Linked DNA regions of Homo sapiens: all the other regions are linked to region 1. Evidence: promoter capture Hi-C in 16 types of primary human blood cells and fetal thymus (Javierre and others, 2016). All regions are on one chromosome and are shown on one strand. The core of a region is centred on a gene start or on the middle of the fragment in contact, and the rest is flanking DNA. Distances in the headings are between cores, read along the strand shown.

What was found. The method cuts DNA at HindIII sites, captures the fragments that hold promoters and counts their contacts. A CHiCAGO score of 5 or more calls a contact.
Region 2: a fragment that was not itself captured here is called in contact with the fragment with the promoter of UFM1 in region 1 in 2 of 17 cell types (non-activated CD4 T cells and fetal thymus); the score reaches 9.9 in non-activated CD4 T cells.
Region 3: a fragment that was not itself captured here is called in contact with the fragment with the promoter of UFM1 in region 1 in 1 of 17 cell types (naive CD8 T cells); the score reaches 6.4 in naive CD8 T cells.
Region 4: a contact is called between a fragment that was not itself captured here and the fragment with the promoter of UFM1 in region 1, in 4 of 17 cell types (naive CD4 T cells, total B cells, naive CD8 T cells and 1 more). The highest score is 8.3, in naive CD4 T cells.
Region 5: a contact is called between a fragment that was not itself captured here and the fragment with the promoter of UFM1 in region 1, in 8 of 17 cell types (naive CD4 T cells, total B cells, total CD8 T cells and 5 more). The highest score is 13.0, in naive CD4 T cells.
Region 6: a contact is called between a fragment that was not itself captured here and the fragment with the promoter of UFM1 in region 1, in 1 of 17 cell types (total CD8 T cells). The highest score is 5.3, in total CD8 T cells.
Region 7: a contact is called between a fragment that was not itself captured here and the fragment with the promoter of UFM1 in region 1, in 10 of 17 cell types (activated CD4 T cells, total B cells, total CD4 T cells and 7 more). The highest score is 12.5, in activated CD4 T cells.

What each region holds. Positions count from the first base shown.
Region 1 is chr13:38,348,081-38,351,318 of GRCh38, reverse strand. UFM1 (ubiquitin fold modifier 1) reads right to left here and starts at 1,468. Exons shown (of 6, transcript NM_016617.4): 1 at 1,398-1,468; 2 at 1,264-1,320. The coding sequence starts at 1,399. RefSeq lists silencers at 917-1,131, 1,829-1,938 and an enhancer at 1,509-1,718. The HindIII fragment of the contact is 2,541 bases long and covers 1-1,890 here.
Region 2 is chr13:36,832,725-36,835,962 of GRCh38, reverse strand. No RefSeq gene overlaps it. Among named protein-coding and RNA genes, the nearest start is that of RFXAP, 15 kb to the right of the region's middle. The HindIII fragment of the contact is 2,013 bases long and covers 581-2,593 here.
Region 3 is chr13:36,963,677-36,966,914 of GRCh38, reverse strand. ALG5 (ALG5 dolichyl-phosphate beta-glucosyltransferase) reads left to right here. Exons shown (of 10, transcript NM_013338.5): 8 at 1,189-1,340. Among named protein-coding and RNA genes, the nearest start is that of ALG5, 34 kb to the left of the region's middle. The HindIII fragment of the contact is 4,137 bases long and covers 1-3,238 here.
Region 4 is chr13:36,980,014-36,983,251 of GRCh38, reverse strand. The region is part of intron 6 of ALG5 (ALG5 dolichyl-phosphate beta-glucosyltransferase); the gene reads left to right. Among named protein-coding and RNA genes, the nearest start is that of ALG5, 18 kb to the left of the region's middle. The HindIII fragment of the contact is 2,080 bases long and covers 549-2,628 here.
Region 5 is chr13:37,011,303-37,014,540 of GRCh38, reverse strand. SUPT20H (SPT20 homolog, SAGA complex component) reads left to right here. Exons shown (of 26, transcript NM_001014286.3): 24 at 2,244-2,349. Among named protein-coding and RNA genes, the nearest start is that of EXOSC8, 12 kb to the right of the region's middle. The HindIII fragment of the contact is 315 bases long and covers 1,646-1,960 here.
Region 6 is chr13:39,682,367-39,685,604 of GRCh38, reverse strand. All of the region lies in intron 8 of COG6 (component of oligomeric golgi complex 6), which reads right to left. Among named protein-coding and RNA genes, the nearest start is that of MIR4305, 20 kb to the right of the region's middle. The HindIII fragment of the contact is 453 bases long and covers 1,675-2,127 here.
Region 7 is chr13:37,028,206-37,031,443 of GRCh38, reverse strand. SUPT20H (SPT20 homolog, SAGA complex component) reads left to right here. Exons shown (of 26, transcript NM_001014286.3): 13 at 1,608-1,679; 14 at 3,139-3,238. Among named protein-coding and RNA genes, the nearest start is that of EXOSC8, 29 kb to the right of the region's middle. The HindIII fragment of the contact is 1,651 bases long and covers 893-2,543 here.

The sequences.
Region 1 (3,238 bases), core at 219-2,718:
CATGAATTTAATGTAAACCCTCCAGTCTGTTATTTTCTCCAGGGGCAGTCAGCTATGTACAGATAATACAAACAGCTGGTTTCAGAGTTGGTGTTTCACTAACCAAAATATGCTGAGAGGAGAGACAGGGCCACCAGAGTTGAGGGTGTTTGCATGAGAATGATTTAAAGGTGGACCAATGGACTCTTAACTATATAAGGAGTAAGGTAAGGAATAGAAGTGGGGATAGCTACAGATAAAAAATCACTGTGATTAATGGATTAAATGAAACGTTGTAGATGAGAAATTATAGTAAATCATGTAGGAGAGAATGTATTTATCCATAAGAGTGCCTGTAAACGACATCTCAGAGATGGAGCAATTATTGGAATCTTAAGGTTCTAGGCTGCAACCATGAACACCTGAGATAAAGTGTAACAGGGATATTTTGGAGATGAAAAGATCAAGGGAGGAAAAGGCTGAGAGGTTGTACGGATCATGGATTGGTAAATCATTGAAATTTATCAGTCAGCTAGGTAGGCCAAGGTACTAATTAATTATGCAAAAAATTCTATTGTAATCCTGTTCTTTGCTACATTTCATGCTACTTCCAACTGCAATAACCTCAAGAGTGTTTACTTAAAATCTATCACTCAACTGCGAAGGATAAGTAAAGGCCCCACATGGATAAACTATCCCCTATCTGCATTTCCCATTCCTACCAAATACTCTATTAAATCCCAGCATAGGAAGGGTGTGATCTGAGTCTCATTACTTTGTGATGCCCGACTGCTGAGTTACTCATACACAACGAAACTCAGAAGCCGCGGAATAACAAATGTTCAAGTAATTTCAAAGTCTTGACTATCAAGATGGAATGTCTTCCTTAACTTCCTCAACCAGCTGGCCAAAGCGGTGAAACGCTTTTCTAATATCCAGCAGATGGGGACTGTTTAAGAATCCCAACAAATTACCAGAACCTGGTCCACCTGTCCTCCCGCGCCACCTGCCCACCAAATGAATTCCGAGGGGAGGTCACTAATCAGAAACACACCCACACCCTCGTGACGGGGCCAAGCTGCCAAGCTGACACTTAGCGAGCAAGTACGGACCTCTCCTCGCAGGCTCCGGTGGGAAAGGCTCCTGGAAGGGCGCGAGCCAGGAAAGTAGATGAAGTGAAGAGATGAAGACTGCGTGGGGTAGTTGTTGGAAAAGCTCGGATCATCCCCAACCCAGCCCCGTCTTGTCCGGCCCCAAAAGGCCCATCTCGGCCGAGCTACTCACACTTTGTACGGCAGCCGTGGGTCCGACGTCAGCGTGATCTTAAAGGAAACCTTCGACCTGAGGAAAAGAGCGGGAGAGAGTCAGGGTCGGGCAGCTGGACCAGGAATTATGGCAGTCGGTAAGCAAACACTTACATGGTGGTGCCGGAATGAATCCAGAACACACGACAACTCCGCGGGGGTAGCACGACTTCCTCTAGTGTGCTGGGGACCGCCCCGCTCCACTCACGTCCACGTCTCCCTCTGCAATCTGGGGACCTCCGAAGTTGTTGCTATCCAACGCACTGCCTGAAAATTGGCCCTAAGAGCTCATGCTAGATGGCGCTTTTAAATTACAAATATCTTGTGCTTTTGCGTTTATATATCTAAGAAAAAAGTATGGATTATATTTATAAGATATCTTTCTAACTTTGGTAATTTGCTACCATATTTTTAGTCAGGCAGAATAAGCGTGGGCATAGAGCGTAGGACCCTAGGTTCCAGTTGGCAGGTTGGGGCGGAAGTAAGGGTATGGGGTAGTCGGATGAAGAGCGAGATGGACTTGGGGCGAAGCTCGGGGCGAGGCCGGGGGCGGGGCTGGGGCGGACGCGCTCTAAAGTTTCTAAGGCAACCTGAGCGCGGAAAAGCTTAATTGGTGCTCCAGAAGCAGGAATTGTAACACTGCTTTATCATTAGTTTTCTTCCGTCTTTCCAGCAAACCAATCCTGTTATATCCTTTACATTTCTCATAGTTTCTCCTTCACGCTTTACTTTCCGATACTGATTTATAACTATTGAATTTCGGTTAAGTAAGAGAGCTATCAAGTACGAATTATCTATGCCAAGACTCCCGCTGGGGTGGGTGAGAAAAAATGAGGTTTCTACGTTTGGGGAACGTGGCGTCTAGTTGGGAAGACACATCTATGAACAGGAGATTTCAGTAATTTGTTATATGGTCTAATTAAACCAGTGCGCTGAGTTGCTAATCACTGACCACATTTATTCAATTTAACAACCAACTTTGAACCCTTTCTATTTGCCCGGCGCTAAGCTAAACTCTGGGGAATCCAAGATGAGTAAGGCAGGTAGGCGTCAACTCTCTAGGATCTAACATCCTGTGTAGTGATGACGGAAGAAAATTGTCCTCTAAACTTTATTACAGATCTAAACCTCTGTGTTTGGAAAATATGCGTCTGTCTCACAATGACTGAAATGCCCTTTTAAAACATTAGCATGAATAGACAAAGGAGGAAGCAGGTAGGCATTAAAATAATGGGGCAATCTAGTTGATCTTTAGAATATGCATCAGATTCTTAAGGAGAGATACTTAAGAGAGGAACCAGGAAGGAACTGTAGTAGGGATAATGGAGATCAAATTCATCTTTACAATAATTTTGCAGCCAACTGATCTTCTATGGTGACATTTCCCAGTGGAGAGAGTTCTGGTTCTGAGTAGGCAAGTAAGACTCCAACATTCTCATGACAGCCATCCTCACTTTTTAAAATAATGGTCTTACCATATATGTAGATGAAGCCAAATATTGATTGACAGATACAGGGATCAACAGTTACAGCCTTAATAGCTGAAACTATTCAATTAGTGGGTGTGACTAAAACTTGTGAGAATAGTAATAAGGATAAAACTGTGATTGTGTCTACCTATTGTCAGCTAGCCAAATAATAATGAAAGAGATGAGTGTACATATTTACAGTCTATAAGACTACATATAATATATTTTGAAACAAAATTTGCATCCTGCTATTTATAGTTTGGTTTCTGCTCATGAATCAAAACGTGGCAAAATCCTAAAGAGAAAAATGGATATTAATCAGAGAGCTTTTATTGTATGTATAAAAAGTGGTGAAAACAGAATTCAGTCCCACAGTGTGACTTTAGTACTCAGATTCTGCTGCTTCAGAAAATACATTTGTATAATATATCAAAATAACATCTCTTGAGATATTAAAAAGCAGCTGTTTCTAAATATTTAGAATTC
Region 2 (3,238 bases), core at 338-2,837, 1.5 Mb after region 1:
TACTACACGTTAGGCGTAATGGGGGAAACAGCTCATCTTTTGATTAAAAGGTGAGATCAACTCACCTAATTATTAAACATGTCAATTATTTTCATTAAAATGTTTTAAAAACAACTGTTAACTTCAAACTCAATAAAAGCAGTATTTAAATCAGATTTTTTTTTTTCTATAGTGAGGCAAGTCTGCTAGATAAACGGTAGTTCAGCCCATTTTCAAATAAACTGCTATCTGCACACAGGTCCTAATCTATGTACCTTCAACAGTATCTGTGGTCATGAGTATAATATTCATTTTTCTAGCTAAGGAAGTGAGAAACTAAAGACAGTTAGAAACTGAGGGTGTAATAATGATTTTCAAAAAATTCTAAAATTTCCATTTCAATGAGTTACACAAAAGCAATTAGAGCTATTTGACAATATTCATATTAATTATATTTTCTAATTCTAGAAAAAGAAATGGGACATTATAAATCAGTAATCGTTTGAAAGATTCCAACTTGAGACTTTTTAAACCAAGACTAGAAACCAAGAAGCCATAAAAGAAATGTCAGACATATTGAAATACACATGAAGTAAAAGCTTCTATGGCAAACGATACCATAAAAAAGTAAACAAACACATTTTAGATTTGGAAAAAAACAGGATAGAAGTGACAAAGGGTTAAATTTCATGATATTAATCAGACTTTTTACACCCTGAGCTAGAAAAAGGAAGCCTAACAGAAAATAAGCAAAAGATATGACTAAGCAATTCACAGAACAGCAAATCAAAATAAACAGCAAGCATATGAAAAGATACTTTAGGCTGGGCACAGTGGCTCACACCTGTAGTACCAGCATTTTGGGAAGCTGAGTTGGGCAAATTGCTTGAGCCCAGGAGTTTGGGACCAACCTGGGCAACATGGCAAAAACTCATCTCTACACAAAATATAAAAATTACCCAGGAGTGGTGGTATGCACCTGTGGTCCCAGGTACTCAGGAGGCTGAGGTAGGAGAATCTCTCGAGCCCAGGAGGTTGAGGTTGCAGCGAGCTGAGACTGCACTACTGCGCTGTAGCCTGGGCAACAGAGTGAGACCCCATCTCAAAAAAAAAAAAAGAACAAGAAAAGAAAAGATGCTTTAATTTACCAGTATTCCAGGAAACGCTAATAAACGTAATAATACTGGCAAAGATGGGAGGGAAATTAATTCTTTTTCATTTGCTGGTAAACATGTTAAGTGTTACAGATTTCCTGGGGAAAGGAATATAACAACATCTATTTAAAGGAAACATGTAGCCCTATACTCAGCAATCCCACTTCTGGAAGTCAATCCCGAGGCCATAAAACCACCAATATATACCGCTATATAAGGACACATTACAAGGATGTCTGCTGCAGCACTGTTCATAGTGGTAGAAAATGACACCAAGTGAATGCCTATCAACAATGGAATAGTTGAATAAATGATGATGCATTCATATCATGAGATACTCTGCAGTCATCTAAAGGAATGACTTAGAGCTATACAAGTGACTCAGAGGGACTTCTACACAGTACTGCATAAAAAAGCAATATACTGACAGCGTGTATAATATGCCCACACTTTTATGTAACAATGACAATTCTAAATGTATATATGTGTTCATATATAATTATACAAACATGAAAAAAACAGACTACATACTGGGTAGTTGACAAAGGTTACCTGGAAGTCGGGTGGTGCATGGAAGACAGAGGGTAAGAAAATTTTAAAAAGGAACAGAAGGGGGTAAAAAGTTAAACAAAAACCTCTCAGTATATACAATACGATTATTAATGTATTTATATAAAATTGTATGTGTATGCATACAGAAAGTTTCATTTAAAAAAATTTAATTACTTAGCATTTATTGAAGGGCCTACTGTGTTAGAATAGGCACTTGCAGTCGGGCGCAGTGGCTCACACCTGTAATCCCAGCACCTTAGGAGGCCAAAGTAGTCAGATCATTTGAGGTCAGGAGTTCAAGACCAGCCTGGCCAACATGGTGAAACTCTGTCTTGGCTAAAAATACAAAATTAGCCAGGCGTGGTGGTGCATGCCTGTAATTCCAGCTACGCGGGAGGTGGAGGCAGGAGAATCGCTTGAACCCGGGAGGCAGAGGTTGCAGTGAGCTGAGATCGTGCCACTGCACTCCAGCCTGGGCGACAGTGAAACTCCATCTCAAGAAAAAATAAACTAAGCACTTGAAAGTGTTAGTTTTTACTTTAGCGACAACATACTAATCTGGAAAAAGCATCATTTCTGGAGACAATTTTAGGTTCAAATCTTGGCTCTGGCTCTAACAATATGACCTGTTTATACGTCACTTTAACTTCTCTGAGTTGCTTTCCTCATGTCAAAACAAGGACAATACTACTTGCCCTGCAATGTTTTGAGGTTCAAATAAATTAGCACAAATGAAAATACTTCCTAAAATAATATAATTAAGGTTAACATAAAATCTGTCTTTTAACACATTCCAAAAATCAAGGCTTAATTTGTGCAAAGGCTTTATTCTTATGGCCCCATGATGGTGCATCCACTGCCGAAATGCAAGGGGCGTGTCCAGATTGCACTGGCCCGTGACGAAAGCTTCCAACATTGTGCAGTAAGTCATTTGGAATCAGAGGGCCTGGATTTAAGTCCAATAGCTGTGCAGTCTTGAGCAAGTAATTTAACCTTGAAAAGTCTGCTTCTGTGTTTATAAACTAATAATTGTGCATGCATTACGGGATTGTTGTGGAGAGCAAGCAAATATGCATAATTGTTTTGAAAACTATAAAGTGCTAGAAAATTGGCAGATTTTGTCATATTGTTTTTAGATTATACTTTCTTGGTGTATCTCCAGCAGGGAAGTATATATTTTGGACCCCAGGATGGCCTGTAAACTCCAAGGCCTGTAAATCTCACTACACATAAGTGTTACATATATGTAAATAAAGATTCACAAGTAAAACACTTTTTGAAATTTTTTAGAAAAATAGAAAGCAAAGGAGCAATTACTGTAAGCACAAGTTGTCTATACATCTCAATTTCTTTCCTTTTTTTTTTTTGAGACACAGTTTCACTTTGTTGCCCAGGCTGAAGTGCAGTGGTGCAATCTCAGCTCACTGCAACCTCCGCCTCCTGGGTTCAAGTGATTCTTGTGCCTCAGCCTCCTGAGTAGCTGGGATTACAGGCACGTGCCACCATGCTCGGCTACTTTTTTTTTTTTTTTTTTGTATTATTAGTAGAGAAGG
Region 3 (3,238 bases), core at 246-2,745, 1.4 Mb after region 1:
CTGTTCCACTGTGGTTCTGTTTGGTGTTGATGGAAAAAGCCATGCAAAGGAAGAACGATACTAAAAATTATAATTTTGAAAAGCAAAAGCCAAAAGGAGGAAGGGACCTTTATCCCATAGTATGAGATATTAAATGTTCTAATAGACTCTTAATAGGTTGCTTATGTATGTAAGTAACGCATCATTACTTGAGTCTATTGCCTTAACTAAGGAACATTTTAAAAGATCGTGTCTTAAAGAAGCTGGGTATAGTGGCACACGCCTGTGATCCCAGCTGCTCTGTAGGTTGAGGCAGAAGGATCACTTGATCCCAGGAATTTGAGGCTGCAGTGAACCATGACCACACCACTGGACTCTAGCCTGGACAACAGAAGGCGTCTCTGTCTCTAAAAAAAATTTTGTTATTTTATTTTTTAGAAAGATCCTATCTTTTACTAAATCTTAAATGTGAAAGTCTGGAATCCAGTGATAATAATCTTATGTTCTTATGTTTTAAAATGTGCTATGTTTTATGAATAATGGAATATTCTGTTACTACTAATAAAATTAATCATCAGTAACAGTAGTGAAACTTCAGATGGGATTAAAACCTACTTAATCTTAATATCCAAAGTATTAAAGAACTCAATATTTTAAATGTATTTAATTAGATCTCTGGCATGCTTAGAAAGACCAGGTGTTTGTTTCAAACTCCTTTCTAGTCCATAACCTTCATGATACTCTGCTATACATCTTCTGTCAATATTCTCATTAGTTAAGTATCAACTGCAGGCTTATATCTGTGCTTTGTTTTGTCAATACATCCTGGAAACTGACAGCTTTTTTGAAACTGAAATACATGTGGGGCAAAGCAGCATAAAATATGTAAGTAAACAAGACGTTCTCCTTGCTCACAGCAGCAGCCCCAAACCTGTTTCTCCTGGTAGGCTAAAGCCCTGGCCGCTTGTCTGACTCAACCTCCAGGAAATGAGTAACTGCTTCCTAGTGCCTCTACTCTGCTCCAAGCAGTAGGCATTCTTGCTGTTTCTTTAATATACTTTGTTGGTGAAGCTCATGGAACAGTGGTGTTCTTATGTAAGATCTACCAGTCAATTAAATATTAAAATACAGTTGTCTACAGCCAGGTGTTTTCAGTGTCTCCTTTACAGATGAATGGAAAAGTCATTTATATTTTGTCTTTGTTTTCAGCGTTCTTACTTCCGTACTCTTCTCATGTATGGGTTCCACTTTCTGGTGTGGTTCCTTTGTGTCAAAGGAATCAGGGACACACAGTGTGGGTTCAAATTATTTACTCGAGAAGCAGCTTCACGGACGTTTTCATCTCTACACGTTGAACGATGGTAGGTTTCTGACTGGAATGTATCCAGTCTGTCTTATGACCCAGCCATCTTCTAGGTAATGAGAAACAGCCCTGTATATTTATAATGAACATGTAGATTTAAACAAAATTGACAATAATGTATGTAAACTTGATCTTGCCTTTATACTTTTCCTGAGTTGGATCTTATTTTGAAAATACACAAACCCAACAATATGGTATAAAGTTATGTGTGTTCACCTTAATTGTAGACAGTAGAAATTGAGTGGCCTGAAAACATTTTTTTTCCTTTGAAGAAAAAAGAAAAAGCTCAGAAACATCAAAACAGAATAGGGCACCCATTTTCTCTTTTCTTCCTTCTACGGAAGATAAGGTGTCTTTCCTAAGACCGATCTTTTGACCTCTACATCTCCTTCCACCTTGTCAAAACCTAATCCTGTCCATGTATTTCATCTCTTGTGTATTCAGCCTTTTCCCTTCCATCACATCTTTCCCAGAACCCTTTCCATTGACCCTGCTGTGCCCTTCCAGCTCTAGCCCTGTCTCCTTCACAAGCAACCTTCTCTTGAAAAAGTGTTTTATATTCACTGGCTTTGTTTTCTTGCTTCCCACTCACTCCTCACCCCACCTTCTTCATATGGATTTTCTTCCATGCCTCATCATTTTTTTTTTTTTTTGAGTTTCGCTCTTGTTGCCCAGGATGGAGTACAATGGCAGGATTTCAGCTCACTGCAACCTCCGCCTCCCGCGTTCAAGTGATTCTCCTGCCTCAGCCTCCCAAGTAGCTGGGATTACAGGTGGGCGCTACCACACCCAGCTAGTTTTTGTATTTTTAGTAGAGATGAGGTTTCACCATGTTGGCCAGGCTGGTCTTGAACTCCTGACCTCAGGTGATCCACCCAAAGTGCTGCGATTACAGACGTGAGCCACTGCACCCAGTCTACTTCATCTTAACATCTAGCCACCTCTATGTCATTGAAGCCAGTGGTCATGTTAAATGACCACTTGTCACACTTAACCCATCAGCAGCATTTGATACTCCTGAGCTCTCTTTTGAAATATACTGGAGATACAGGTGGCTAGCACTGTTGTACAGAAGCTGAAACCCTGACATCAGCCCTGACATTCTCCACATGCATATATCCAATCCATGACAGGGCCTGTTGATTTTAGCTTTTGTGTTCCTCCATTTCTCTCCATCTCTACCACCGCCATCCAGAACACCATCCTTCTCCATACTACCATGCTGTAGCCCACAAGGTCTTTGCAAACTTAAGTGTGATCAATCATATGCACCTCTTCTGCTTATATTCCTTCATGGGCTTCCCATGGTCTTTAGTCTGGCCCCACCTGTGTCTCCACATGCGGACTCTTTTCTTTTCTAACCACGCCCCTTCTCACCTTCTCCTTCAGATCTTCCTTAGGGTAGCCTGCCCTCACTCTCTAAAGATAATATAATTAGCTCGGGTGCCCCTAATTATATCCTGTTGCAGTGCCATGTGCTGTATTCATAGCACCTATGACATTTGTAGTTTTTTCTTATATTTGTGTAATTACTTAATGTTTCTTTTTCTCGATTAAAGCATAATCTTTCTCCATGAGAGCAAGAGTCACATTTAATTTTACTTATTAGTATATCCCACTATCTAATATCATGCCCAGCACATAGTAGGTACCCAGTAAATACTGTTGAAAGAACTAATACTTAGTCATGGGTTCTGTGTGAATCCTGTTCATGTTGGGTATCTGCATGATTATGCCAGTATATGTCCATTTTTATACTCTCTACAATTTTTGTGCATCTGTTTTCAAAGACCTGTTGTCTTCCTAGAAATATATGCCATATAACCCCCAAAATACTACTTTAAAAAATGTATTTTCAGAATTATCATTCAGACTTTTTAAAATCTTGTTTTTCTA
Region 4 (3,238 bases), core at 339-2,838, 1.4 Mb after region 1:
TAAATATTTCCCTTGCATTATCTTTCTAGAGGGAGTCACTCAGTGGGAGGGAGGGCATAAGGCATCAGATTTTTAGCAGCTGATTTTGTCATTCAGCAGTAGGGCAAAGATAATTTAAATGATTTTGCTGATGTTAGGGAGTGAACCAAACAATAAAACAAAAATCTGAACTTTATTCTTATAAATCTAGTTCCTTTATACTACTCTGTAAAGAAAAGGAGTTCTGATGCCATATTTTTTCCTTATCATAATCCCATTTACTACACTGTTACTAGAAATGTTAAGTTTTAAAGAATTAAAGCATGTGATTATCATTAAGCTATTAATTCGTAGCCTTGGTTTTACAGCACCTTAAAGTATCCCTAATTATTTAAGTGTCCCAGCTCAATTGAATTAATTTGAATTAAATTTAGTAAGTTTTATTAATATGCATCATGTAATACTCTTTGCAGGAGGTGGAAAGGAGGCAAATAAATGATAGGTGGTTAAAGTTACAAAATTCATAGTTTTTGGATCCACCCAGTGAAAAATATGGTTCTGACAAAGCTTATAAACAGCCAGTCATTGCTCTCAGAAAACTTACATTCTGAAGTTGACATGCATAGAGAAATTAGAAGAAATCTTCTTACTTATGTAATTCAGGTGTTAGAGAACTTTTTCTGTAAAGGACCATATAGTAAATATTTCAGCTTTAAAGCCAGTCAGCCTCTGTGGCAGCTGCTCAACGCTCTATTGTAGCATGAAAGTAGACATAGATAAAATACATCCTTTATTTACACAAATAAGCAGCAGATCAGATTTGGGCTACAGGCTATAGTTTGCTGACTCTTAAATCTAATTTAATCATTTATCCAATATTGGAAAGTTTTTACAACTACCTAGTGATCTTTCAGCCTCTACTGCATAGCTCTAGTGATGCTTAAGCAGCTCATTCTGTCTCAGCTCAGCTGTGAAGTTCCTCTAGACACCAAATGCAAATATGTCTCCTTTTAATCACCCCCTTCCATTGTTTCTGTCTTCTGTAGCTACACAAAATTATCTACTCCACTTCTTTGTGACAGCCCTTCAGAGAGTCAAAGCTGTTTTCCATGTGTATTCTCTGTTTTAGGCTGTCAGTTCTTACGGTTTTTGTTGTTGTTGTTTGTTTGTTTGTTTGTTTTTGAGACAGAGTCTCGCTTTGTCATCCAGGCTGGAGTGCAGTGGCGCAATCTCAGCTTACTGCAAGCTCCGCCTCCCGGGTTCACACCATTCTCCTGCCTCAGCCTCCCCAGTAGCTGGGACTACAGGCGCCTGCCACCATGCCCGGCTAATTTTTTTTTGTATTTTTAGTAGAGACAGGGTTTCACCGTGTTAGCCAGGATGGTCTCTATCTCCTGACTTCGTGATCCACCAGCCACGGCCTCCCAAAAGTGCTGGGATTACAGGCATGAACCACTGCGCCTGGCCCAGTTCTTACAGTTTTTAAACATAGCATATTTTTTTCTTATAATTTTCCACTGAAGATGTGTCTGTTCGTGTGGATTTGGTTTCCACATTACATTGTTACTTCGTACAGGTATTGCCAACTCTTTTTCCTGTTCATTGCCTTTGAACTTTGTCTCTCCATCTCTATACTGGTGTGGATTTCTTTCTGTGTTCTTTTGCTTTGTTTTCAGGAATGGAATTGTGGCTAGTTATCTCAACTTCAACTTGTTAGATTTCTGTGTCTAAAAGTGTAGGTTCTTGTTCTATCTTAGGGCAATAGCTGTTTTCTCAATTCATTTAAGCCACAAATTTGATAAGCATGCCTTGCATGTATTTCCCTAAGCCCTAATAAAAATAGCGACTGAAATAGTTCAGAAAATAATGAAACAGGAACGTGGGTTTTGTAGTCAAGTCCTATAATTACGTGACTGTCTCACTAGATGGCAGTCATTAGCTTAAATATCTTTTACAATATTGCTTTGACCATTTAAGTCATTTCTTTAGTACGTTTTACAGTGGTTTCTAATGTCTTCTTTCTTAGCTGATTTTTTTTTAATGACTACAAAAAGAAATTTATTACTACTTGCTTGTATTTCCTCTTAGAGTAACCAGGTTACATGTTCTGGTTCTGATGATTCTTATACAAAGTCATCTTACAAAAGTTGCCTACAATTTCTTTTCTGATAATAAGTGCTCCTGTAAGGTTTTAAACTACATGTATATAATTTAAGTAGAGCTTTGTATAATACATACAAATAAAATAGGGCATTTACATTTTCATACTAAAAATTTTATTTTATTTTATTTTATTTTTGAGACAGGGTCTCCCTGTGTCACCTGGGTTGGAGTGCAGTGGCTCAATCTCAGCTCACTGCAACCTCTGCCTCTTGGGCTTAAGCGATTCTCGTGCCTCAGCCTCCCGAGTAGCTGGAATTACAGGCACGCACCACCACGCCAGGCTATTTTTTGTGTTTTTTGGTAGAGATGGGGTTTCACTGTGTTGGCCAGGCTGGTCTCAAACTCCTGGCCTCAAGTGATCTGCCTGCCTCGGCCTCCCAAATTGTGGGGATTAGGAGCATGGGCCACCACGCTCAGCCAAAACTTTCATTTATATTTTACTTGTATTTTCTTTTCCCACATCTTTGTTTTTTAATATGCAAAGCTTTCCTCTCAGATTTTCAGTTTCCTAACTGGTAGTTAGTCTACCTCTTTTTAAAAATATGCTTGTTTTTTAGTAATTTTTCTAAGCAAAGTATATGCTGGCCAGGCACAGTGGCTCACATCTGTAATCCCAGCGCTTTGAGAGGCCATGGTGGGAGGATCGTTTGAGGCCAGGAGTATGAGACCAGCCTGGCCAACATAGCGAAATCCCGTCTCTACTAAAAATTAGCCAGGTGTCGTAGCGCACACCTGTAAGCCCAGCTACTCGGGAAGCTGAGGCATGAGAATCACTAGAACCTGGGAGGCAGAGGTTGCAGTGAGTCGGGACTGCGCCACTGCACTCCACCTTGGTCAACAGAGAGAGACTCTGTCTCAAAAAATAATAAAAAATTTTTTCAAAAAATAATCCCAAAGTATATGATGATCACTTGTTCAGTTGCTTAACTTTTCTAAATAGAATCAAAAATCCCTAACAGGCAAAATAAATGCTAAAAAGTGTGTATTTCATGATCATAGAGTCATTTCTCAGGCTGTGACTTAGGTTTTAAATTATTTTATTTATTTTTTATTATTATTTTTTGAGACAAGGTCTCATTCTGTCACCCAGCCTGGA
Region 5 (3,238 bases), core at 554-3,053, 1.3 Mb after region 1:
AATCCACTGTGATCTGAAAACATATTTTTGGTTCTTTTAAGTTTGTTGAGGTTTGTTTAATGCTTGAGAACGTGATCTGTCTTGATGAATACTCCATATATGGCTGAAAAAATGTATATTCTGCTGTTAGGAGTGTTCCATATTAGATCAAGGTATTTGATGGCATCATTCAGGTCTTCTATATCCTTTTCTTTCTGTATGTTTTATCAGTTACTGAGAGAAGTGTTGAAGTCTTCAACCAAAACTGAAAATTTCTATTTTTCCTTTTGCTAAAGGTTGTTTTTTGAGCCCATATTGTTAGGTGCATATACATTTAGGATTGTTATTTCCTTGATTAATTTACCCCTTATCATTAATAAATGACCTTCTTTATCTCTGGTAATATTTCTTGTTTCTTTCTTTTGATTAACGTTAGCTTAGTACGTCTTTTTTCATCCTTTTAGTTTTAGCCTGAGTCCTTTTATTTCTTAGTATTTGTTTTCTTCTTCAAGATGTTTGTTTAATCATTATTCCTCCTTGTTTGAATATTCCATTTGTGGTGGTGGCTTATAGTCTACATTAGGTTTGTGGAGTGCTTTGGGGGGAAATTGATATCACCTGTAGTTTTTTTGCATTTTGAGTTTTTTTGTTTGTTTTATCATAGCTCCGTTATGGTGGTGATGTGGTCTGCCTTATTCTGTTGTTCATTTCATGAACTGGGTTCCAAATTCAATAATGTGTCCTCCTTTCAGCTCTGTGCTCTTTTGTCCAATCTTTTATATCCAGGGAGATCCCCTCAAGATAAATGTAACTTTTGAAATGTTTGGCTTGCAATTATATACTGAAATGTTACTTCAGACACTATTTTAGGTGGTACCAAAGGATGTCTTTTGCAGAGCAAAAGTTTTTAATTTTGCTGAAGTCCAAGTTAACAGTATCTTTTCTTTATGGAATATCCTCTAGTTTTCATGTCTCGGAACTCTTTACCTAGCTCTAGGTCCCAAAGATTTTCTCCTGTGTTTTTTTTCTAACAGTTTTATAGTTTCTTATTTTGAATCCATGATCCATTTTCAGTTAATTTTTGTACAAGATGTGCAACTTAGGTCCGTGTTTTGTTTTTGTTTGTTTTTGTTTTCCTATCAGTATCCAATTGTTTCAATACCATTTGTTGAAAAAAAAGAAAACAACAACAAAGAAAAAAAACAGCTATTCTTTCTGAATTGAATTACTTCTGCACATTTGTTAAAAGTCAGTTGGGTCTATTTGAGTGGGTCTATTTCTAGGTTCCCTGTTCTGTTTCATTAATCTATGTGTCTCTCCTTCAGCCAATACCACACTGTCTTGTTCATTGTAGTGTCTTAAAATTGGGCAGTGTTTTCTCCCATACCATTTTTCAAAATTGTTGTAGCTAATGTAGGTTCTCTACCTTTCCATATACATTTTAAAGTCATCTTGTCTATATCTACAAAAACCTTGCCAGCATTTCTAAAAGAATTGAGTTAAACTTGTTGATCAGTTTGGGGGAAGAACTGCCATCTTTATGATGTGAGTCTTCCAGTACATGAACATAGTATATGTCCTTATCTAGACCAAAGTCAATGTTTTGTAGTTTTTGGTATACAAGCCCTGTATATGTTTTCTTAGACTTAAGATTAATACCTAAGCTTTTCTCTTTTTTTTTGAGTAATTGTGAATGGTATTTTTTTTATTTCAGTTTTCACATGTTCATTACTAGTATATATAGTGTTGATTTTTGTATATTGGTCTTGTTTTGTGCCCTCTTACTGGACTTACTACTTCTAGGAGCTGTTTTGGAGATTGCTTAGGGTTTTCTACCATATAGACAGTTGTGCCATTTGAAAATAAGGACAATTTTATTTTTTCCTATAAAATCTATATACCTTTTATTTCCTTTTCTTGACTTAGTCTGCTGACTAAAAGTTCCAGCACTATGTTTATGTTACAAAGGGTGTTTTAAGCTTTAAAAAATTGTTTCAGTGAAGCTTTATAAAAGCCTTAGGCGTTATCTAGGTAGCATTAAACAATAAATACAGATGCACTGAAAAATGAAGTTTTCTTTGTTCAAATACCATAAATTTATTCTTGCTTATTCTAAATACCTTTGAAGTATTTTCCTTGTTATTCTTTTTACAAGACTAGTCTAATACTGCTTTCTTTCATATAGGAAAAAATACTGATTTCTTTTCACCAGCTCAAATTTGTTTTTCTTTCTTGTACAAGTCATTTATTATTTTTTTATTCAGGGTTCTGAGCAAGGTTCAACCAGTCAAGAACAGGCCTTATCTGCTCAGCAAGCTGCTGTTATTAACCTTACTGGAGTAGGAAGTTTTATGCAGTCACAGGCAGCTGGTAGGTATCTTCATAACTTTATATGCTGAATTTACTAAACATATCTAATCTATTTGGGATCTCACCGCTTAAATTATTTTCTTTTCCTTCCCTTGCAACCAGTAAACAGGAAAAAGTAAAGCTATAATGTGTAAACTATTAAATTGATTGATGGCTGAGATTTTTTTTCATTGATAGTGGATTAAGAGCTTTGACTTAACATAATTACCACAGTTGTGTTTCCTTGTTACAGTTTACTGGCAAAATAATTATCCACTTTACTAGGTTACCAGAGCTGTTTTCAGTGTTTGCCAATAGTTATCTTAATTAATAACTTTTTTGTTTTCCTGGGTTAAGACTGAATTTTTCTAGATTGCATAATCTTTTGTCTCGTTCTGGTAACTTGTAGTTGCATAAATGACTTAAGTCTTAATGGTCAATAGCATAACTTCTGTAAGTCACTTTTATCATTTAAAAAAAAAGATTAAATTACTTCTCAACACTTCCAGCAGTAAATGGTGAACTAAAGATTACTCTTAATGATTATCCTGTCAGTTGAAGACGATAATTCTAACTTCCTGTCAGTTGAAGACGATAATTCTAACTTCCTGTCAGTTGAAGACGATAATTCTAACTTCACACTTAATTAAAAGAGTAAGCCATATGTATAAGAAAACTATGATAGGAGTTTGAGGATTGAATGAGTGACTGTGTTGTCAGCATCTTATCACTGTGGGCTTACTATGATGCCTTTAGAAGTCTTTTAGAATGATAATCTTTATTTTGGAAGTCAGTTATCCTTACATATAAAGTTCCAATTTAGAGGTAGTGAATTTCCAAATAGAAGTTTATATAATCATATACCTTTATCAGACCAATTGTGAATTTCCGAAAATAGCTGTAGTATAAT
Region 6 (3,238 bases), core at 652-3,151, 1.3 Mb before region 1:
AAGACCCTACTAACTATATTAAAAATAAACAGCATAATTTGTTTCTAGGACTGTCCACTGGGACGACAGCTGTAACAGAATCCAGTGAATCTTAAAATCCAGTGTATTTTAAATAGGGGGTAAATTACCAAGCCTGGCAAACACTGGAATTTCATCTGTTCAATACTATAAAATATCAATAAACATTAATATTAATGTCAATCCTCCTATAGAACAAATATAATTTAAAGCAAAAACAGCATAAGCCACGTGAACCTTCAATATCTTTAGACATGAAACATCCTTCCCAGAGACAGAAGAAAAAGTCTTTGACCAAAATCAGACATTCTTCCAACAATAATCAAAAATCAAAATGGAGCTTTTTCAGAGTGAATGTTCAAATTATGTAAATATTCTCAAATACCTCAAGTTAAAATTAAAAGTCTCATTTTAAAAATTGTGTTTAGCTACAGTTAAAGAAATTCTGGTCAAAAAGCAAATTAAAAGAAGAAAAATTTTTATCAAAAAGCAAATTAAAAGATAATAGTAAAGAAGTGCCTCTTTGAAACACAACAAATACATAAAGAAGGAAGAAAAATCAGCATTGTATGTATTACTACATTTTAAAATAACTTATATTCTAAAGGCTTACCAAAGAAAATAAATTATCAAATTTTTTCACTTCATTTATAATTGTACATGATTTATTATTAAAAGTCAATAATGCATTAGCATTCCAGTTATACACCACATAAGAAACACTGAGTATGGCAACTTTCCCCACGGATTTCAATAATTGACATTTTTCTTGTATATAATACTTACATTATTTGAGACACAATAATGGACAGTGAAACTTTTATACATTACTTATTAAGTTCATATAGTGCCATCTGGTGGTTAACATGATACATTATTAAGTTTTCCCTAAATGTAAGGAAACTACCACTTTGAAAATAATTACTTAATGAAAGGCCAATTTTCTCTTTTTTAGCATTCATCTTGTTCTAATCATCTGGTCTTAAAAACTTACTTTCCTACTCAACTTCTAAATGTGTCTTAAAATCTTCCAAATTGGCCAGGCGCGGTGGCTCACGCCTGTAATCCCAGCACTTTGGGAGGCCGAGGCGGGTGGATCACGAGGTCAGGAGATCGAGACCATCCTGGCTAACACGGTGAAACCCCGTCTCTACTAAAAAATACAAAAAATTAGCCGGGCGAGGTGGCGGGCGCCTGTAGTCCCAGCTACTCGGGAGGCTGAGGCAGGAGAATGGCGTGAACCCCAGGGGGCGGAGCCTGCAGTGAGCCGAGATTGCGTCACTGCACTCCAGCCTGGGCGACAGCTAGACTCCGTCTCAAAAAAAAAAAAAAAAAAAAAAAAATCTTCCAAATTGCCATTACTGCCCCCTGCTTCTTAGCATATGCCCTTCACAGATAAACCTTCTTTGCCTATTATAGTTCCATTCTTTATCTTTCAAGCTTTTTCCCAGATTGCCATGTAGCCCTCAGATACATCCCTCCTTAGTTGAAAACTTTCTAGTCATCTCCTCTCAAAATAAAAATAATATCTAAAATTTAGTGATGTACCAAGCATTACACTAAGTGCCTTAAGTGAACAATCTAACTTAATCTTCACATCAACCCTGTAAAATAGGCACTATTATTATCCTCATTTTACAGCTAAGGAAACAAGCTTATAAAGGTACACGGACTTCTCAAAGAAATTTGACTCAAGAACCCACCTTATAGCCATTTAATATTGCTCCTTTCCAAGTTTTGATAAAGAACTATAACTCAGTGAAAATTTATTTGCATGGCAGAAGTCAGCTGTTGAAAACAAACAAAGGTGCCCAAAACACAGAAAGGCTTTTTTTTTTTAATACATAAAAGATTAACCTTGTGAATAAATATTAATCTGTAGACAATGCAACAGCTGTTAAAATCAAACGCCAAATGTTTTAAGTGCTAAAAGACTCATAATTAATGTCAATATGTTAAAGTGAAAAAGTTGGGAAAGAAATTTTAAAGCAGGAATAAACTGTTAAGCTGCTGATCAATGGTAAACATTAACTTATCTTATGTATATGCACAACATTCAGGGCTATTATGATCCAGCTGTTGCTCCTAATTCAATAGCCAGTGCAAGCTTTTACAATTAATTTCCCAAAGGTGCATTATCTCTCAATGTATATCTTTGCATTACTGTTCCCTCAACCTGCAAACTGTTCTTCCTTTACTTCTAGGAAAATGCCTATTCAGCCTTCAGAACTCACTTTATACCTAATTCCTTAGGAAACTTTCACTGATGCTCATCTCTTTCCCCTACACCAGAATACTTGAGCCACACAGCATCTGGCACATGACTTCTAGACTATCAATTAGTGTATTCAATTAAAATGCGTTTGTTTATCTCTGGTTCCATAAAATAAAGCAGTTTGAGGGCAGTGCTTTACTGACGTTGTGTTTCTAGAATTTAAAATGGTGCTTAACACATAGTACTCAGTAAGTAACACTGGGGTGTTATTATTTTACACAGCTGTTCAGCATTTGTGTTCTGTGACCTGATGATAGGATAAGTAGTGTTCCAATCAGAAAGTAATGGGGAGGTCCTCTAAAAATAGTATAAACAGATTCTGAAAGGGATGATTCAAAGCAGGATGCACTACCTTGGTAAGAGTCCCCTCGTTTCCTGTTTTCAGAATTATTAATATCATCAACCCCTACATCTACCTAAAGCTTATGCTAATACTACTCCAGGCATTAAAGAAAGTATTTACCTTTTATTTTATAAAAATTAAAAGAATAAAATTAAAATATAAAATAATAAAAAACATATCAACAAATACAAAATGCATTAAATTCTTATCCAAAACATTACCACATAGCTCTTGTTTGGCATCAATTACAGGATCAAAGACCTGGGCCCTCTCCTCCTAAATCCTATTAACAGATTACCTTGATATTAAATATTCTTTTTTCATCTCTGCATAACCATATTTCTCAGTACTGATATGACTTCAGTCTCTGTAGGGAAGTATTCATACAGGAGTTTTAGTTACTTACAATTCTAAGGGAGTTAATGAGACGACAGGGGAAAAGTCACTGAACCTCTATATAAGTAAGAGGTAGTCTAGATACAGAGACACTTTGGTTTCTCTTTCCATATTGTATTCTATAGTATGTAAAATTCAAATAAGCTGATACCCCATGAAACAAATTCAAGTTAAGGTGAACAGTATTGTTGTAAATTATTATAAAT
Region 7 (3,238 bases), core at 469-2,968, 1.3 Mb after region 1:
CTAAACAAGTTTTTTAAAAACAATATGATTTATTTCAAAAAACATCGAAAAATGATTTTTAGAAGCTGTGTATTGTTCTTTTTTCACATTAAGTTGAAAGAACATAACCCCTTAATATAGTTTTTTGGAGCAGGAATAGTAAAACAATTTTAAAATTGGAAAAATACAGTGTATATTACATAATCACGTGAAATCTCTCTTTTTTTGATAATATTTCATCAAAATTTCCTAATAGTGCTTGTTTACTCAAACTGGTTAAATTTGAAGATTAATAATATTATTTGACATAAAATAAAATAAAGATTAATAATACTAGAGAAGTAACCAAGATTAGGAACATTGGGTTGTATTCTTTATTGATCCATAATATACATGAACTATAAATGGTTGAAGACAAAAAAGGGATATTTTGATGAGTGATCCTATGTTTTTCTTTCTCCTCTGTTGTTTTTTATATTCACTCAACTCTTTATTTTCAGATTTGTTCTTCTGTTGCACCCTTTCCATGCTAGCACATGCATTATTCTTACTATTTCTGATTTAAAAAAAAGAAATTACGCAAAGCACAAAGCCAGAAGCAGCAGTAGACTGTATATACAGCTCAAGGAAGTAAGCCATATTATCTTTTGGTAGCTTATGTGCAGTTCTTCAAGGAACATGGCCTGATAATAGAATTTCAGTGTAAATACTGAAGGGTGGAATTTAGCTTTGGAGGACAAGCTGGAGTACTTCCCAAACTTTAATGTCCTTACGAATCAGCTGGAGAGCTTGTTAAATTGTAGGTTGCTACTCAGCAAGTCTGAGGTGCTAAGATGCATTTCTCACAAGCTCCTAGGTTATGTGATGCTGGGGTCCATGGACCACACATTGAGTAGCAGTTGCCCTCAAAGCTTCTCAGTCTAGCTCAATCAGAAGAATCACCTAGGATATCAGTTAAACATAGAGATTTCAAGCCCTACTCAAAATCTACTTACTTAGGATTTCTAAGGGACAGACATGAAAATCTGTATTTTTAATAGGTGCTCCAGGTAAGTCTAAATTACTCTTAAGATCGTGGTTGCCTGTAAGATAATAACATTTGACTCACACAGATGCCTAGGACATGTACAGAATATATGGTCAAGTCTGACTAGAAAGTGGAAAACGTTCAAAAAATTTGATCAGCTTTAATATTTTACCTTCCCTAGTCTCCCTCAGTTTTGTCCCCACTGTTACATGACCGCTTTTATTTCAAGAAAAGCCTGCCAAAAGGAAAAGATCTTTATCCTTATCTCTCTGACATTCCAATTTTCCTGAAGGAAAAGCTCTAAAGGAAAAACATATCAGCTTATGGACAAAAAAATGAAGAGGCACTGTCTAGAAAAGCAGCTGTGTTTATTAACACTTATTTATTTGGTTTGGTTTTATTAAAGTTGTTTTATACACATCAGAAGACTTTTAAACTGCTTAAGCATAAGTAGTTGATACCGGTAATTTAAGAATTCTTGCGCTAACAAGTATATTGTATTGTCGAGTTACTTAGTTTCTTCTCTTTGATCAGAATACTGATTCCATTTTATCTGATATGGATTCTATTTTATGTGGTATTTCTTGATTTGATTGTTTAGGTGGAGAAATATGCTAAAGTGGAAAAGTCTATCAAATCTGATGACTCACAGCCAACAGTCTGGCCAGCCCATGTAAGAAATCATTGCCTGTCTCTGTTTCTAATTATGCCATTTCTAATCTGGCCTCTGAATTTATTAAACATAAAGTGCAATTGCCATTAGTTTGGGACCTTTTTTCTTTTTTAAATTAGTTTCTGCGAGTTCAGTTTATTACAAGAAGAAACAACTATTTTGTTTATCAGAGTATGCTTTGCATTTTAAACAGCAATTTTTTATTTTTATTTTTTATTTTTATTTTATTTTAATTTTTTGAGATGGAGTTTGGCTCTTATCGCCCAGGCTGGAGGTGGGATCTTGGCTCACTGCAACCTCTTCCACTTCCCAGGTCCAAGCAATTCTCCTGCCTCAGCCTCCTGAGTAGCTAGGATTACAGGCACCTGCCACCACACCTGGCTAATTTTTGTATTTTTAGTAGAGACAGGGTTTCGCCATGTTGGCCAGGCTGGTCTCGAACTCCCGATCTCAGGTGATCCGCCCACCTTGGCCTCCCAAAGTACTGGGATTACAGGCATGAGCCACTGCGCCCAGCCTTAAAGAGCAATTTTAATGAAGAACTTCATTTTTACTTTTGGTTTGCGTATTGGTAGTTCTGATTTGTTTTGTTTCTAATTAATAAATTCTTCTAAGGCTGGCTTTTAACAGAAGTGTTCTTTATAAGTTTTCCTAATTGCAATAATAACGTCTTAAAAAGAGAGGAATAGGTGTAATATTTAAATTAGGTGAACTCTGGGAGTGAAATGATGACAGATGTTTTTTGTGTGTGATAGCAAAAGCAGACAAATGATAAATAGATCTGCTTTTGAAAGTTTTATCCTTTTAATATTATTTAATATTTGCAATTCATATATCTAGTATGAAATTCTGCCATATTAAGCTTGATTAAACATGCCATTTAAACTCTCATTCCCAGAGTACCATGTAAAAAAGAATCCTGTACTGCCCTCCTGAGCATAAACAGGCACGGCAGCATGAGGATCAGGGGTGCAAGCTTAGGGACAGACTGCTAACTCCCTGTGTGACCCTAGGCAATTCATTTAACCTCTCTTTGCTTAATTCCCTGACTTCTAATACGGAGGTAATAACAGTGCCAACCATGAAAATATGGTGGAGCTTTCAGTCCCTGTAGAGTGCTGAGAACAGTGTTTGATTAATGTTCATTGTTATTATATGTATATCAATATGTCTAATAATGTATTTAATGATGTATTAATATTGTTACATATGTGTTCATACTTCATAGTATATGTTAATGCTTTACTAAATGCATGCTGAGTGCCCATATAGTTTTTAGGAAAAGAACCGTGCTGTGCTTTATTCTCATAGGCAGACTTAAATATCTTTGTAGCCTAAGTGCTGTGTGTCTTCCTATCGTCAGATACATGTTACTGTATCATTTATTCCTGATTTTTACTAATTCTTATTGCCTGCCTACTTGTGAAGGTATTTATTTGAGGTGCTATGCATTTTTCAGGATGTAAAAGATGATTATGTATTTGAATGTGAAGCTGGTACTCAGTATCAGAAAACAAAGCTGACCATCTTGCAGTCGCTTGGAGATCCACTTTACTATG